Regions from separate parts of the Homo sapiens genome. Here regions 1, 2 and 4 are each linked to region 3. Evidence: promoter capture Hi-C in 16 types of primary human blood cells and fetal thymus (Javierre and others, 2016). All regions are on one chromosome and are shown on one strand. The core of a region is centred on a gene start or on the middle of the fragment in contact, and the rest is flanking DNA. Distances in the headings are between cores, read along the strand shown.

What was found. Contacts are between HindIII fragments. The CHiCAGO score rates a contact against its expected background, and 5 or more counts as called.
Region 1: a contact is called between the fragment with the promoter of BMP6 here and the fragment with the promoter of TFAP2A-AS1 in region 3, in 1 of 17 cell types (total CD4 T cells). The highest score is 6.6, in total CD4 T cells.
Region 2: a contact is called between a fragment that was not itself captured here and the fragment with the promoter of TFAP2A-AS1 in region 3, in 1 of 17 cell types (M0 macrophages). The highest score is 5.1, in M0 macrophages.
Region 4: a contact is called between a fragment that was not itself captured here and the fragment with the promoter of TFAP2A-AS1 in region 3, in 1 of 17 cell types (naive CD4 T cells). The highest score is 8.0, in naive CD4 T cells.

Annotation. Positions count from the first base shown.
Region 1 is chr6:7,724,769-7,728,322 of GRCh38, forward strand. It overlaps BMP6 (bone morphogenetic protein 6), which reads left to right and starts at 1,331. Exons shown (of 7, transcript NM_001718.6): 1 at 1,331-2,851. The coding sequence starts at 2,188. The HindIII fragment of the contact is 3,909 bases long and covers 1,056-3,554 here.
Region 2 is chr6:8,128,549-8,132,165 of GRCh38, forward strand. No RefSeq gene overlaps it. Among named protein-coding and RNA genes, the nearest start is that of EEF1E1-BLOC1S5, 28 kb to the left of the region's middle. RefSeq lists an enhancer at 2,794-2,843. The HindIII fragment of the contact is 1,330 bases long and covers 814-2,143 here.
Region 3 is chr6:10,409,761-10,413,780 of GRCh38, forward strand. TFAP2A-AS1 (TFAP2A antisense RNA 1) reads left to right here and starts at 2,558. Exons shown (of 3, transcript NR_033910.1): 1 at 2,558-2,607. It overlaps TFAP2A (transcription factor AP-2 alpha), which reads right to left. Exons shown (of 7, transcript NM_001372066.1): 2 at 141-575. RefSeq lists a silencer at 2,798-3,157. The HindIII fragment of the contact is 20,769 bases long and covers 1-4,020 here.
Region 4 is chr6:8,105,909-8,109,783 of GRCh38, forward strand. No RefSeq gene overlaps it. Among named protein-coding and RNA genes, the nearest start is that of EEF1E1-BLOC1S5, 5.3 kb to the left of the region's middle. RefSeq lists a silencer at 3,225-3,417. The HindIII fragment of the contact is 4,957 bases long and covers 1-3,875 here.

The sequences.
Region 1 (3,554 bases), core at 81-2,580, 2.7 Mb before region 3:
TCATAGCTATCAGATATTTGTAGAAATAAAGACTCTTCTAAATGACCACTTGTGTCTGGGCCAAGGCAGAACTAGAAAGAAGGACTCAGTGGGTAGTTGGAGTCAGTGGTGGTCTCTATTTACCCATGAGAAATAGATTCTTGGAAATAGGATAGGAATGCTTATAAGATTTGGACCAACAGAAAGCCTATGATCTCATAAATTCATGAATCCCACAGTCTATAATCTATTTGACTTCACTCTCAAATGCCTAGGACCATTTGGACTAAGGCTGGCAAGTCAGAAAATTGCAGTTTTTATTTTCAACTCCACACAATTTTCACCAAGTAAAAAACCTTCATGTTTTACGTGAATTTGCTTCTACGATCCATAGATGACTGGATGTTCTCGGGCGGGGTAAAGGCAAATGAATTTGTGTCCTCATTGGCAAATGGTGTTGGTGGTGGTGTTATCTTGTCTAAAATCCACAGGAACCTGTGTTTCAGGACCCTGTCTATTGTCCTGACCATTCAGAATGCATGCCAAGCCCCTGCTCTTCCTGGAGTTATCTTTATCACCTCTCCTCAAGTTTTATCTTGCACCATATAAGTCACATTGTATTTCAATATTAAAATGCAACATTAATAGATAAGCTGGAGAATCAAGACATTTCCAAGAAGACAGGGGACGCCTTTTCTAATATATCGTCTGATTACACCCTCTTTCTTTTGGGTGCTAGCTTAAGAAGCCAAACCAAAGCACAAATGAACAGAGAAGTCAACACATCCGACCCCAAACCCTCAGGACGCTGGCTTGGGTTACATGTGGCCCTCTCTGTGGTCAGTTTGTGAGTAGCCTCCCCGGAGGGTGTGTCCCAACTTCCAGCAGCTGCCGTGGAAAGCCACGTGTCCGCTAAACGCCTACATTACATCAATAAGAGAAACTAAGGAAGGGATGGAAAAGCTATCATTTTTCTTTTCTTCCTCAGTTCTGGCAGTATAGTGATTTAATCGCTGTTATTATTTTTATTTAGTTAAAGCATCAACTTAGGCCTTTTAAATGATGGTAAAAGAGAAAGCTTCAGATCGGGGTATTGGTCAGATCATTCTTACTAGCGATGACCTCTTCGCCTTTGGCACCTCGCGGCTCTTCGCATGCCTCCAAGAATTCCCGGGTCTTGAAACCTACGCGCGGCGGAGGCGACGCCTCTCGGGAGAGGGAGGGTGAAAGAAGGGGCGGGGCTATTTAAATAGCCCGCGAGCTTCGCGTCCCCATTGGCTGCCAGCCTGTCGGTTACCGCGGGGCGGGGAGTCCCGGGGCTGGAGTGAGGTACCTGAGCCGGGCGCGCAGCAGAAAGCCCACGTTGGCCGCTGCGGGGAGCGCGGCGTGGAGAGGCGGGAGACCGAATTCCGGCGCCGCCGCCGCGGCCGCTGCTCGGTGCACTAGCCCCCTTCCTTCCCATCCTTTCTGCGAGCGGGTTTGCTGGGCAGCCGGGCGACCGCCGAACGGAAAGCAAGATCCTCGCCGCCTCCGCTTGAGGAGGCGTGCGGCGCGCGGAGATTTTGAGTGGGAGCGACGGTGCCCGAGAGCTCAGGGGCGCGGAGTTCGTGAGCGAGAAGGAAGTTAAACCTCGCGGAATAGACTGGCATTTCGGGACGCCTTGTCGCCGCAGCCTGGGCCCTGCAACGGGGTAAACTTCATGGTGGCCCTGCGATCTGGGGAGGGGCGTGCGCCACGGTGATGCCGGGCATCTCCCGCAGCTCGTGAGCGGCCCCGCTCCCCGCTGCCCCGGGTCCCACTCAGTCGCCAGGGAGAGCGCGGGGCAGCGCACGTGTGCGGCCAGCGAGGCCCAGAGTGACCGCGCCGCGACTCGCAGGAGCCAGGGCGCAGGCTGCAGTGCAGCCCGGACTCAGACGCACCTGGCCTGGACCGCGCGCCTCTAGAGACCTGCGCGAGGCTGTGAGGCTCCCCTTCCTCCCCTCCAAGCGGTTCTCCTGGTGATCGCCCCTTCGCCACCTCTCTAGCCTGGGCAACTGGGGGCGCCCCGGACGACCATGAGAGATAAGGACTGAGGGCCAGGAAGGGGAAGCGAGCCCGCCGAGAGGTGGCGGGGACTGCTCACGCCAAGGGCCACAGCGGCCGCGCTCCGGCCTCGCTCCGCCGCTCCACGCCTCGCGGGATCCGCGGGGGCAGCCCGGCCGGGCGGGGATGCCGGGGCTGGGGCGGAGGGCGCAGTGGCTGTGCTGGTGGTGGGGGCTGCTGTGCAGCTGCTGCGGGCCCCCGCCGCTGCGGCCGCCCTTGCCCGCTGCCGCGGCCGCCGCCGCCGGGGGGCAGCTGCTGGGGGACGGCGGGAGCCCCGGCCGCACGGAGCAGCCGCCGCCGTCGCCGCAGTCCTCCTCGGGCTTCCTGTACCGGCGGCTCAAGACGCAGGAGAAGCGGGAGATGCAGAAGGAGATCTTGTCGGTGCTGGGGCTCCCGCACCGGCCCCGGCCCCTGCACGGCCTCCAACAGCCGCAGCCCCCGGCGCTCCGGCAGCAGGAGGAGCAGCAGCAGCAGCAGCAGCTGCCTCGCGGAGAGCCCCCTCCCGGGCGACTGAAGTCCGCGCCCCTCTTCATGCTGGATCTGTACAACGCCCTGTCCGCCGACAACGACGAGGACGGGGCGTCGGAGGGGGAGAGGCAGCAGTCCTGGCCCCACGAAGCAGCCAGCTCGTCCCAGCGTCGGCAGCCGCCCCCGGGCGCCGCGCACCCGCTCAACCGCAAGAGCCTTCTGGCCCCCGGATCTGGCAGCGGCGGCGCGTCCCCACTGACCAGCGCGCAGGACAGCGCCTTCCTCAACGACGCGGACATGGTCATGAGCTTTGTGAACCTGGGTAAGGATTTGGGGTAACGTAATGACGAGAACATTTCCCCCTTTTCAGTGTCCCGGGCCCAGGGGATGGAGTGAGGGGGTGGAGGAGCTCCCGGCGCGCGGGTCCCGCCTGGTGCGCCAGAGAACGCGGGGACAGGCAGGCTGTGCTCCCGCCACCTGCGCGGCGGTGGGCGGCACATGCGCTCCCCCGCGCCGCGGGCAGGGCTGCGCGCCGAGGCCCCCAGAGGCGGCTGGCCGGCCGGGCCGCGGGGCTCCGGGAGCGCTGTCCCCAGCGGGCGTGTATTTGCGGACTCCCTGAGCACGTTCCGCGCTTTTTTTCACTTCTGCCCAGCTCTGGCCAGGTTAACTCAACTGCAGCAGGAGAGTCCAGCCCGAGTGTGGCCATCCTGGGAAGAGGGCTCTTCAGTACGATTTTCCCCTCTAAACTGCCGCCTTTTGCCCCCTAACTTGGAGTGCAGTTTTCCCACCGAGACTTTTAGGGAATCCGACAGCGGCTGGGAACTTTGAAAACTTGGCATGAGTATGTTTAGAGGTATCCACGGCACTAGGGGAGGTTGCAGAGGGAAGTCCCAAAAGGACCGCGGAAGGCGCTCGGATCCCGGCCGGGCGGGGCTCGCTTCTGTTTGGGGCGGGATGAAAGCTCAACTGGGGTAATCCATCCTGTGCCCCGGCTCACATGCCCTTGGCCATTGTCCCCAAAGGCT
Region 2 (3,617 bases), core at 229-2,728, 2.3 Mb before region 3:
TCATGAGGGCTAAAGGAGTTAATGTAAGTAGAGCACTTAGAACAGAGCCTGGCACCTAAGAAAGCGCTGTAGAAATGTTAGCATTATTAGTGGGCTGGATCAACCCACTCTGTCCCTCCATGGGGTGAGCATCCTGTTGGGATCTGCTGGGGCATTCCTGTCTGCAAATGGAATTGTGAGGTGGTTCAGTGAAGCTGCAGTTTCATTTAATTCCTGAAAAGGACTGGCACCAGGCCACTTTGAGCAGTGAAGTTGGTCTTCAGTAGTATTTGGTTCTTCCCATCAGTTTTTGAGTCTTATTCTTCTCTTTGTCCCAGTTGGCCAATGTCTTGCTGATCCAGATCCTGACAACAATGACAATGGGATGGGTCCACGCCTATCAGAACCAACACATACATAGTTCCAGTTTCTCATTATACTTTTTTTTTTTTTTTTTTTGAGGCAGAGTCTTCCTGTGTCGCCCAGGCTGGAGTGCAATGGTGCAATCTTGGCTCACTGCAACCTCTGCCTCCCAGGTTCAAGCAATTCTCTTGCCTCAGCCTCCCGAGTAGCTTGGACTACAGGCGCGTGCCACCACACCCGGCTAATTTTTTGTATTTTTAGTAGAGATGGGGTTTCACCGTGTTAGCCAGGATGTTTCATTTTACTTTAAATGTATCCAACCAAAGATCCATCCATCCACCCACCCACCCACTCACCCATCCATCCATCTATCGGTCCATCCGACAAACATTTATGGAGCAACTCCTACCTGCTAGGCAAATTCGAGGCATTGGGAAATGCTAGGAAATGGCATCATTTCTGTCTTCAAGAAGCTTGACATTGATATTGGGTTAATCCACAGGAAATGACACGAAATGCCGAGAAGTCTGGCATTTTGATAGGCTGCTAAGAGAGATATTTATGTCTTTTTCAGGGGCTATTTCAAAACCTTTACATGGTAACACGAAAAGCACCCTCTACTTATTTAAAGACATGATTTCTTATACAGGTATTTAAAAAGAGCATGAAGCTGGGACATTCTAAGAGCCAAGAAGTTAGGAAGGCAGTGAAAGGGGAGTAGGTATCGTGGATAAAAGTTAGAAGTTTAGGTAAAAATTGTGTGTCATAAGCTCTGCAGCTGGGACTTACCTGTCCTGCCCAAAACGAGCCAATAGTTGTGCACCAAGGCTCCTCAGCACAGCATGAGGACGAGGTGATGATCAGATCCTTCTTTCTGGCTGCAGGACCCAGGGTGCTATTGCTGCAGCTGGCGAGGATGATCACAGCACTGTCCAGACATCTCCAATGAGTAAGGCACCTGTCCGATGGTGCTGCAATGCTCATTCTATTTCCAGCAAGTTATTAGAAAAATGTGCGTAATCATTGTGTAAAATGCCAGCAGAGTTACCTTTGTGTGGTTTTTCTCACTTGAGATCTCAAAGTCAAGTCAAAATTCTTGAGGGGCTGTCCTTGTCCTTGGTAGCTGGATTCCCATCTCATTCAGTCCAATGTCTCCCACTACTTTCCAATGTGCAGCTTGGTTCTGTCAAGCTGCTCTCATTCTTCCTCACTAAAAATGACCGAATTCCCTTGGCCAGGTGTGGTAGCTCACACCTGTAATCCCAGCACTTTGGGAGGCCGAGGCGGGTGGATCATGAGATCATGAGATCAGGAGTTGGCGACCAGCCTGACCAACATGATGAAACCCTGCCTCTACTAAAAATACAAAAATTAGCCTGCAATCCCAGCTACTCAGGAGGCTGAGGCAGGAGAATTGCTTGAACCCAGGAGGTGGAGGTGAGCCAAGATCATGCCACTGCACTCCAGTTTGGGCAACAGAGTGAGACTCTGTCTCAAAAAAACAAAACAAAACAAAACAAAACAACCTCATTTCCACCTCGAGGCTTTCACTCCCCCTTCTCCCCCTTGATTAGTTACTTCTTTTTCCTTTCTCCCATACTTTTCTGGCTCCACTTAAAACTTCTTCAGTGAAGCATTCCAGAATTGCTTCACATCCTTTAATAACCTCTATTTCCCCCTGTGAATTTCCAGGCTACTGTGCACATAATTTGGATTACACAATTTAGTCTTTGATTACATATTGCATTGCAACGCTGGCTAGTTATTTTATGTGCTGGTGTGGTTAACTGATCGAGTAGGAAGCTTCCTGCTCCTTTCCTGCACATGTCCCGGCACCCAGCACAGTGCTGAGGATATAGTAGGTATCCAACGTTTGTACCAGTACATCTAGTATATACATTATTGCAGGTATGGATCCCAGCTTTTCAAAGTCTGAAGCTTATACAATTTGAAGAAGCCTTTTCCTGAAAGGAAAAGAAAAAGACTACAAGATGACGAATAAAAAATCAGGAGCCAAAATGAATATTTCGTGAATACATCGCCAAGGCCGCATTTTGGGGAAGAAGTCTTCACAGGAGAGAGACTCTGGAGCTCCAGCAGCTCTGAAATGGACAAATCTAGAGGTGTTTTTGGTCTTCACAATCCGTCTTCTCCATCTGTCACATACAAACTGAACATCAGGCCTCATTCTCTCTCCCAATGGCGAACCTTCCCTACCTTGGTAAACTGGCAAGGACCTCCCCTGATTTAGTCTGCGCCAGCTCATAGGACTGGGTGTGTAATTGCTAGGGAGGAAAATGGTGGTTGACAATTAAGCATCAACAGTGTCATTGATCTTTTGGGGAAGAGAAGAGGAGCTTGTAACAGCCAAAGTATCTACACATTTTTGTATTGTGTATTTATTCTATAAATGTATTTATGCCTTATATGGCATATGTCATTTAAACTGGAACAGGCAGAGTGTCAAGAGGCCAGGGCTGTATATTTATCATCTGAGCACGGTGCAGGGGGCTGAGCCATTTCCTCTCCATCTAAGCTGTTTTTTGGAATCTGACCAGCTGGTGTCACTATGGGACCGTGAATACAGGCATCTTCAGAGCTCTAGGAGTAGAAGAATTTTGGATTGGCGTTGTGGCCCTGGGAAAGGTAACCTTCCTCCCACCCAGCACGAGCCTCCGCCCGACCTCCTCTCTCCCTGTGCCTGCATAGTTTATAAAATTGAGAACTAGCGGACGGATTTAATTTTGATGGAGAATTACCTGTAGGCAAGAGGGCAATCAAACCCATACTGTTAAGGGGCGGGGGGACAAAGGTAATGAATCTGTTCTGTACGTTTAGCAAATGGAGAGTGTCAGGCTAATAATCCGTCAGCTCCTTTTTCCTATGCAATAAGCTTCCGTTACATCTTGTTAGGTACTACGAACTCAGCACTATCTATAAGGGGCTGATTAACCAAGCAGTGCCTTTTCCAAGCTTCTCATTTCCTGTGTCCTTTCTGCCACCTGCCCTTCATCTATTTGGACCATCAAGGAGTCCCAGGTGAAAAGGGGATTTCAAATCAGTCTCTCAGTCACCAAGTTTTAGCAAATTATGGAGGTTTGGTATGGGAGAAGCTCGAGAATAAAAGCTGAGAAGTGCTTTGGAATTCACTGCAGGTAGAAGGCATCTCTGCCTGCGTTTCCTGTCACTACTGCGAATCATGTACAGTCTTTCATGGACCACGGGGGATCAGATAAAGCTCTCCGAGTTTAAATTTCGTTAAAAGAAGAGTCCTG
Region 3 (4,020 bases), core at 1,308-3,807:
CTCCGCCTCCGAATAAAATGTTTTTATAAGGAAATACTAGGGAGAACCCGGGCCCACCGACTGTATGTTCCAGGTATCCTTTCTGGGGTAGGTAAGTAGGGGGCTGTGTTCCCTCCCGCGCTGGTTGCGCGGCCTCTTACCGGGACCTCCTCGATGGCGTGAGGTAAGGAGTGGATCGAGAGGTCTCCGAGTCCTGAGCTGAGCGCGTGTGGGCCGTGCAGGAGGTCCTCGTGCCGCCTGTAGTCCCTGCGAGGATCCAGGCCCGACAGCTGGTGAGGCAGCCCCCGGTGCGTGTGCAGGAGCCCAGACTCCTGGCTCTGCCTCTGGCCGGGCCAGCCTGGGTGCTGCGGCTGCGGCTGGGCGTGCAGGGGGTTCAGGCTGTAGGGGTCGTTGACGTGGGAGTAAGGATCTTGCGACTGGGGGTAGATAGGCTGGTAGGGTGGGGGGAAGTATGGGGGCTGGAAGTCGGCATTGGGGGTGTGGGACAGCGGCGGGGCGCTCGTGTAGGGAGATTGACCTACAGTGCCCAGCTGGGGCAACCGTGCCGTCCCGTTGCTGGTGCCGTCGTGACGGTCCTAGAAGAGAGCGAGAGGAAAGGTAAAGAACAAGGAATCAGGCGTCGAGCTACAACTATCCACACAAAATCCACTTGACAAGTCTGCGTGGGAAATCGCCCGTTCCCGTTGGCTGGCCGCCGGGAAAAAATCAGCTCTAAGTTCTTTTCAGGAAATACCCTCAAGTGAAACAGACCGAACAACGCAGAGAAACTGTATATGGAGGGGGCACAAGAGACTATTTAGGGGTTTCTTTCAAAGAGAGGAAAAGATAGAAAAGGGTCTCCTGGAACACAGCCCATTAAACTGCAGCGTGAAATCTCTCTTAAGCAAAATTAAAATTCCTCCTAAATACTAAACAGCAGAAGCGGCCTTTTCTTTTCCCCCGATTTGAACCTGTCTGCCACTGCGTTATTGTTTATTCTCTTCCATTTATTTGGAGAGAAAAAAATCATAAACGTTCAAAGACTGTTACCGTTTCATGACTACTTAAATAGAAACATATTTCGCAGAGGGGCTGTAACAAAAACACACGTTTAAATTACCAGCTTAAAGAAGGTTTTAACTGCAGGATCGGGGTCTGTCTTTTTCGCTTCCTCTGTTAGGAGCCTTTTTCTCGACAGAGTCGATTTATGGTTTGGATAGGGAAAGGGGGACGTCAAGTCAAGGTTTAAAATAGAAAGATTCAGCCTTATTGGGTTTAAAAGAGAGAGGTGCACCCCGGGGCTGTGGCCCCCCCCCCCCGCCCCTTCCACCCCAGCCCCAAAGGGCAGAAGAAACGCCTGACTTTAGGTTTCTCTATTGCAATTCCCTTGCAAAACAAGCGAAGAGAGTTGATTCCAGAGACCGCGAACCCTCGGCGGTTCGGCCGCAGGTCCCGAGGGTAGGGGGCACACCGCGCTGCACTTTTCCTGCAGACAGTTTAAGCATCAAATGTTGAGAACATCTCGGGGACAAGTGAAGACTCAAGGAAATCAAGATGAACGTGGGGAGAAACACGCCTTGGGAAGCCGCGGCGAGGTAGGTCTGCGTGCTCGGAGAGGTCGAGCGGGGGCTGGGGTAGGGGGTAATGCACTCGATTTAGGGATGGAAAAGAGCGAGAGAAAGGCGGAAGGTGGGGTGGGGGATGCAAATGGAGAGGGTGTCCTGAAGGAAAGCTGGGCGTGAAACCCGAGGTTTCGGGCAGCTCCACGGCACCAGGTTTCCAGAATCCAATTCCTAAAGAAACAGCAACGGGGGTGGGGATGGGACTCACCATGGCTGAAAAACTGTGAACTAACATCTGCGAAGAGTCTGGGGTAACGAGTCAGGGTGGAAAAAAACAAGCAAGCCTGGAGCGCCCGGCTGCCCCGCCGCCCGAGCGCGCCCCACACAAAAGGCGCCGAGAGCCCCGCGCCACCCAGGACTCCAGTCACGGCGCCGACGCTCCCCGGAGCGCGGGAGCCCGGCTCGGATCCATCCGAACTTGAACCACCGATTCGCGCGGCGCCTTCAGCTGGTCGAACCCACGGTCTCTATCCTGCCGCGACTGGTTATGATTCAAAGTTCTTTAAAAATGAAAAACCCCAAAAAAGGAAAAAGGAAAAAGTATGTGTGAGTGTGTGGGTGCGTGCGTGTTCCTTAATCCGTGTCTCCCCCTCTTTTCTTAGCGGCGGCTTCGCTTGAGCTTCTAATAACCGCGCTGGGCAGCGTTCCTGGAGCCTCCTAATAGCAGATATTCATGACTATTAATATTACACGAATACTTAATAAGGGAAGAATGCCTGGAAATCGAGCGTGAAGCGGAGAGGCAACTCGCGCCGGAGCCGGCTCTCAATGCAGTCCATTGACGGGAGTCTCAGTGTAGCAAATCGGAGTGGGGAGAGGGAGCGCGAGAGACAAAAAGCGAGCGAGAGAGGGAGCGGGCGAGCGCGCGGGGGGCCGCGGCGCGGCGTCTGGCGAATCACAGGGAAGGGGCAACATTTTAAAAGGTTGCAGGGCATGCAAAAGTGAAAGAGAAAGAGGCAGAGAGGGAGACCGAAGGAGAGAGCGCAGAGAGGGAGAATGTGTCTGCGTGCGTGTGTGAGAAAGAAAGTGTGGGCGAGGGAGAGGAGCCCCGGGTGGGGAGAGGGGAGGGAGGGAAGGAGGGAGAGCCCGAGAGGAGGAAGGGAGGGAAAGAGGGAGGGAGGAAGGGAGGGAGGGAGGGGGAGGGGGCCCAGCCGGAGCGCACGGAGGGGGAGGCCGCGGGGGAGGGGGAAGGGGAGAGGAAGCGAGCGAGGACAATCAGACCTAAAAGGCTGGGGCAGACCTCGGGATGCAGCGGGGGTCGTGCGTAGCGGGTAGGAGCTGCTTGGGACCGCGTCCGGGCGCTCGTGGGGCTCTCGGCGCGGCAGGCGCTTCCCGGCCCTGTCTGGCCGCGGGCTCCGCCGCTTCGCAGCCGAGTCTGGGACTCGGGACTCGGCTGCCCGCTGCTGCGCGGCTCCTCCATGACCCGGCGCCCTGCCCGGGACCGGCCCGCTCGCTGCACTGGTCCTCTCCTCGGCCTCCTCTTGAGCTTTCCTCGGACAGGGGCACCGTGCGCTCCCCGGCCACCGTCGCTCTGCCCTCGGCTCTCTGGGGCCGGGGATTCCGGATCGGGAGCCGGGATGCGGGCCGGGGCGCGCACAGACGCTAGGCGGCCCAGCCCGGGCGCCGCTGGCACCGGCTCGCGGCTCCCGGCAAAAACCCGTCCGACTGGCTGGGCCACTCCCGCCTGACGCCCCCCCAGATGACACGACTAGCTCTCCCGGCGTGCTGCCTTTGCCAGTCTACCCGCCAGGTTGTCAGAACAAGCGGCACCTCGCCTCCTGCGTGTCCCTACAGAGCCCCGGCACAATCAGACTGCCCCAAGCCAGCTCCGAAACCCGAAATCCCCGCTCCGGCGCTTGCCCACCACGGCCAAAGTTGTGGAAACAGCTTTGACTTTATTCTCCTCTCTCTCTCATCTTTTTTTGCCTCGCTTACACACGCATTCACACTTGCCCCCACAGGATCCCTCTAGGGGTGCAAGTTCATCCCCCACCTAGCCACCCACCCCATCCAGTCGGCACCTAGAGCCGCACGGAGGTTCGGACCCCGCCCGCCGAGGGCGCCCACACCTGGAGCTGGGTTTCGGCCTCTGCGAAAGTGAAATGCCCAAGCCTCCGGCCAAAGCCCAGACCAGTACAGTATGAATTGTCCTATGAGACTGAGGGGTTCGGCTTCATTCCTACCTGCCCGCAAAGCTCGCCCCCAGCCTCGAAAACAAAGCGACTGGTCTGACGTGGGGTCCCTGCGCCCCTCCTCTAGCGCGACAGGACCCCCCCAGGGAAGAGCCAGTACCCGTGGGATGTCACCCCGTCCCCATCTACCGGGGTGGGGGGCCTGAAAGGAGAACGATTTAAAATAATCTTCAGAAAGAAAAGGGAGGAGGGAGCGGGTGACACATCGTTCACATAAACCCAATTTC
Region 4 (3,875 bases), core at 993-3,492, 2.3 Mb before region 3:
TGGATGGCTTTTCTTTTTGGAGCATGCCTGACAGCTTTCTGTATGTCATATGGGCATCTGTTAAAATGAGCTGCATATGCCAGAAACTGTTACTGTATCAGATTGCTCTTAGCAGTGCCATCATCTGCAAATTTTCAGTTTTAGAAGAGTTTAACTTTCTATTTCAGAATATGATAGGGTTTTAAACTTAGGTGTGAATGATATTAAATATGTGGTAAATGAAGTGATGCAGGTGCTATGCATGCATTTTGTTCTCTCTATAGATACCTCTCATATCTATGTATGTCTTGCACTTACCACGCTTGTTTATTGAGCCATTACTATGCACCAGGCACTGTACAATGCACTGGGGACACATTGATGAACAACTCCCATCAAACTTAGAGTATCTTGAGAGGAAAGACACTAGAACAATTTTGCGATAAGGCAAAGATCAGGAAGTGGAAGGCATGATAAGAATGCAGAGAAGGCACCTGGCCAGGCGCGGTGGCTCACACCTGTAATCCCAGCACTTTGGGAGGCTGAGTTGGGTAGATCACGAGGTCAGGAGTTCAAGACCAGCCTGGTCAAGATGGTGAAACCCCATCTCTACTAAAAATACAAAAATTAGCCAGCTGTGGTGGTGGTGGGCACCTGTAATCCCAGCTCCTCAGGAGGGTGAGGCAGAGAATTGCTTGAACCTGGGAGGTGGAGGTTGCAGTGAGCCAAGATTGTGCCACTGTACTCCAGCCCGAGCAACAGAGTGAGACTCCATCTCAAAAAAAAAGATTGCTTCCAAGAGGTCATGGTGTTCAAGTTGAGACTTGAAGGATGAACAAGAGTTGGTCAGGTGAGTGGTGGGGTGGAAAACTGAGGGAGAGTTCTGAGCAATGGGAATTGCATATGCAAAGGCTGCAAAGTGGAAGAGAGCATGATTCTTTGGAGTAACTGTTCAGGCTAGACCGGTAAGCAGATGCTGGATTGGAAGGGTCCTTGAACGATGCCTCTAAAAATTTTTAGAGGCCTCTGGGCATCCTTTATTTTTGATGGTTAATTTTATGTGTCACCTTGACTGGGCTTCAGGATGCCTGGATATCTGGTAATACATCATTTCTGGGTGTGTCTGTCAGGGTGTTTCCAGAAATGATGAGCATTTAAGTTGGTGGACTGAATGAAGATGATCACCCTCACCAGCGTGGGTGGGCATCATCCCGTCTGTGAGGACCTGGATAAAACAAAAGTATGAGGGAAGGTGATATTTACTCCTGACCTGACTGCTGAGCTGGAACACTGATCTTCTCTTGCCCATGGTGCTCCTGGTTCTCAAGTCTTCAAACTCAGATGGGAATCTTTACCATTGCTGTCCAGCTCCCAGGCTTTTGAATGGTACCACCATGTATTAGTCCATTTTCACGCTGCTGATAAAGACATACCTGAGACTGGGCAATTTACAAGAGGAAGAGGTTTATGGGACTTACGATTCTGCGTGGCTGGAGAGCCTTCACAATCATGGTGGAAGGTGTAAGGCACATCTCATGTGGCGGCAGACAAGAGAAGAGAACTTGTGCAGGGAAGCTCCCATTTTTAAAACCATCACATCTCATGAGACTTATTCACTGTCATGAGACCAGCATGGGAAAGACACACCCCTATGATTCAATAACCTCCAACCAGGTTCCTCCCACAACACGTGGGAATTGTGAGAGTTACAATTCAAGATGAGATTTGGGTGGGGACACAGCCAAACCATATCACAGCATCTTTCCTGGGTCTCTAACTTCCAGACAGCAGATCACTGGACTTCTCAGCCTCCATAATTGTGTGAGCCAATTCTTATCTACAATCATTTATATACACCTATCTCTATGCGGAGGACAGAGTCTTGCTATGTCACCCAGGCTGGAGTGCAATGGTGTGATCTCATCTCACTGCAAACTCTGCCTCCCAGGTTCAAGCGATTCTCCTACCTCAGACTCCTGAGTAGCTGGGATTATAGGCACGCACCACCACGCCCAGCTAATTTTTTGTATTTTTTAGTAGAGACAGGGTTTCACCATGTTGGCCAGGCTGGTCTTGAACTCCTGACCTCGTGATCCACCCACCTTGGCCTTCCAAAGTGCTGGGATTACAGGTGTGAGCCACCATGCCTGGCCTCAGGTGATCTTTCTTAGCTGCCAATCTATTTGGTCACTCCTTCCAGAAAACATGCCTGTGGCTCTTCATGGCACTTAGAATTTAGTCCAGCCTCCTTTATCTGGGAGCTAAGGTCCTTTATAACCTGACCTCTGTTGACTTTTTCATGCTCACTTCTAGACACTTCCTGCCTGGCATTTTTTGCCCCAGCCTTGGCCATCTCCTCACAGCTCCTGGGAGCCCAAAATATTCTCTTGCCTCTGGGCCTTTCTGTCTCTGGTTCACTCCAGCAGGAATGCCCCGCTTCCTCTCTTAGGGCTGAATTTGAGCACTCATAACAGCCTTGGGAATGCTCCTGCCACAAGACAGACCCCACTGTGCTGAGGCTACCTTCTTGGTATCTGCCTGCCCTGGCCGGCATGCTGACTGAGCACACAGACTGCATCCTGTTTATTACTGAGTCATCGCACCAGGCACCAGCCTTGGAACAGAGTGATCACTGGATACATTCATTTGCCGAATGAATAAAGAATCATGCAAACATATGGAATGATGTGGAAAGCTAGGTCAATGGGTCAAAACAAGTAACATGAGAACTGTGAGGATATTACACAGTCTCATCTTTAAGCAAACATTAAACACCAAAAATTAAAAATCCCTTATCTGACGGTTGACCAGTGCAAATGAAAATGACTCAAAACTACAAGTCAGGAATGGACAACCAATGTACTGAAAGAAAAATCATTTTCTTTCGCTAGTCTCCCAAACATTCATTGATCCCCCAAACCACCTTCTCTGGGCTCAGGAAGTGGCCATTTATTACATTATCACCATCATCATCGCCATCGTCCTCATTCTCCTCCCTCTCGGCATCCGGCTGTCAAACACTTACTGATCACTGCTCTGTGCTGGACTCTGTTCTAAGCTCTTGTATTAACTCATGAATTATCACACCAGCCTTTGAAGCAGATACCATTGTTATCCCCATTTTATAGATGAGGAAATTGAGGCTCCAAGAAGTGTAAGAAAATGAATCTTCAGAGCATTACAGATAGAGAAATACCTTAGAAAAGAACAAAGTATCCCCCAGATTTTGAGTCCTGCCCCGACATCCTCTCTATAGCCTCCTAATTCTCCGACTCAGCGGCGACTCAATTTAGAACTCCAGGCTCATCTTGGGGGACTCCAGTTCATCAAGGCTTGGGTGGATCTTGGCTTGAGAGCCATGCTGGGGACCCTGCTGCACAGTGTCACTGAGATTGTTGCAGAGGAGGTGTGAGAGAGGAGCTGTCAGCACAGCTCCAACCACAGCCCTGGGGACAATGACAGCAGAGTCACAGGATTTTTAGCAGCAGAACGTCTTCTCCACACTCCCTGGAGGAAGGCTCAAGGGCGGAGCATGTCCTCGGTGCCACCCTTCAGGTGAAGAGTCAGCCTGGGGCCAGCATGCTGGTGACAGGCTAATTCTTTCTGTTCAAGAGCAGCACAGGCCATTGAAGGGACATGTGCCCCGAGAACTACTTCCTTTCAGACTCTGCTCAGGGTCACCTTCTCTCTGCAGACTTTCCTAATCCCTTCCTATCCTCACCCCCAACCCAGGCAGCGCTGGTCACTCTGTGTTTTGGGTTCTGCTGAACCCTGTATTTGCTCCCTACAAAGAAATTTGCCATACTTCATTGCACCTATTTATTCACATTTTGGACTCTTCCAAATAGACTCTAAATCACTTGAGATGCAACTGACACAGAGTAGGCATTCAATAA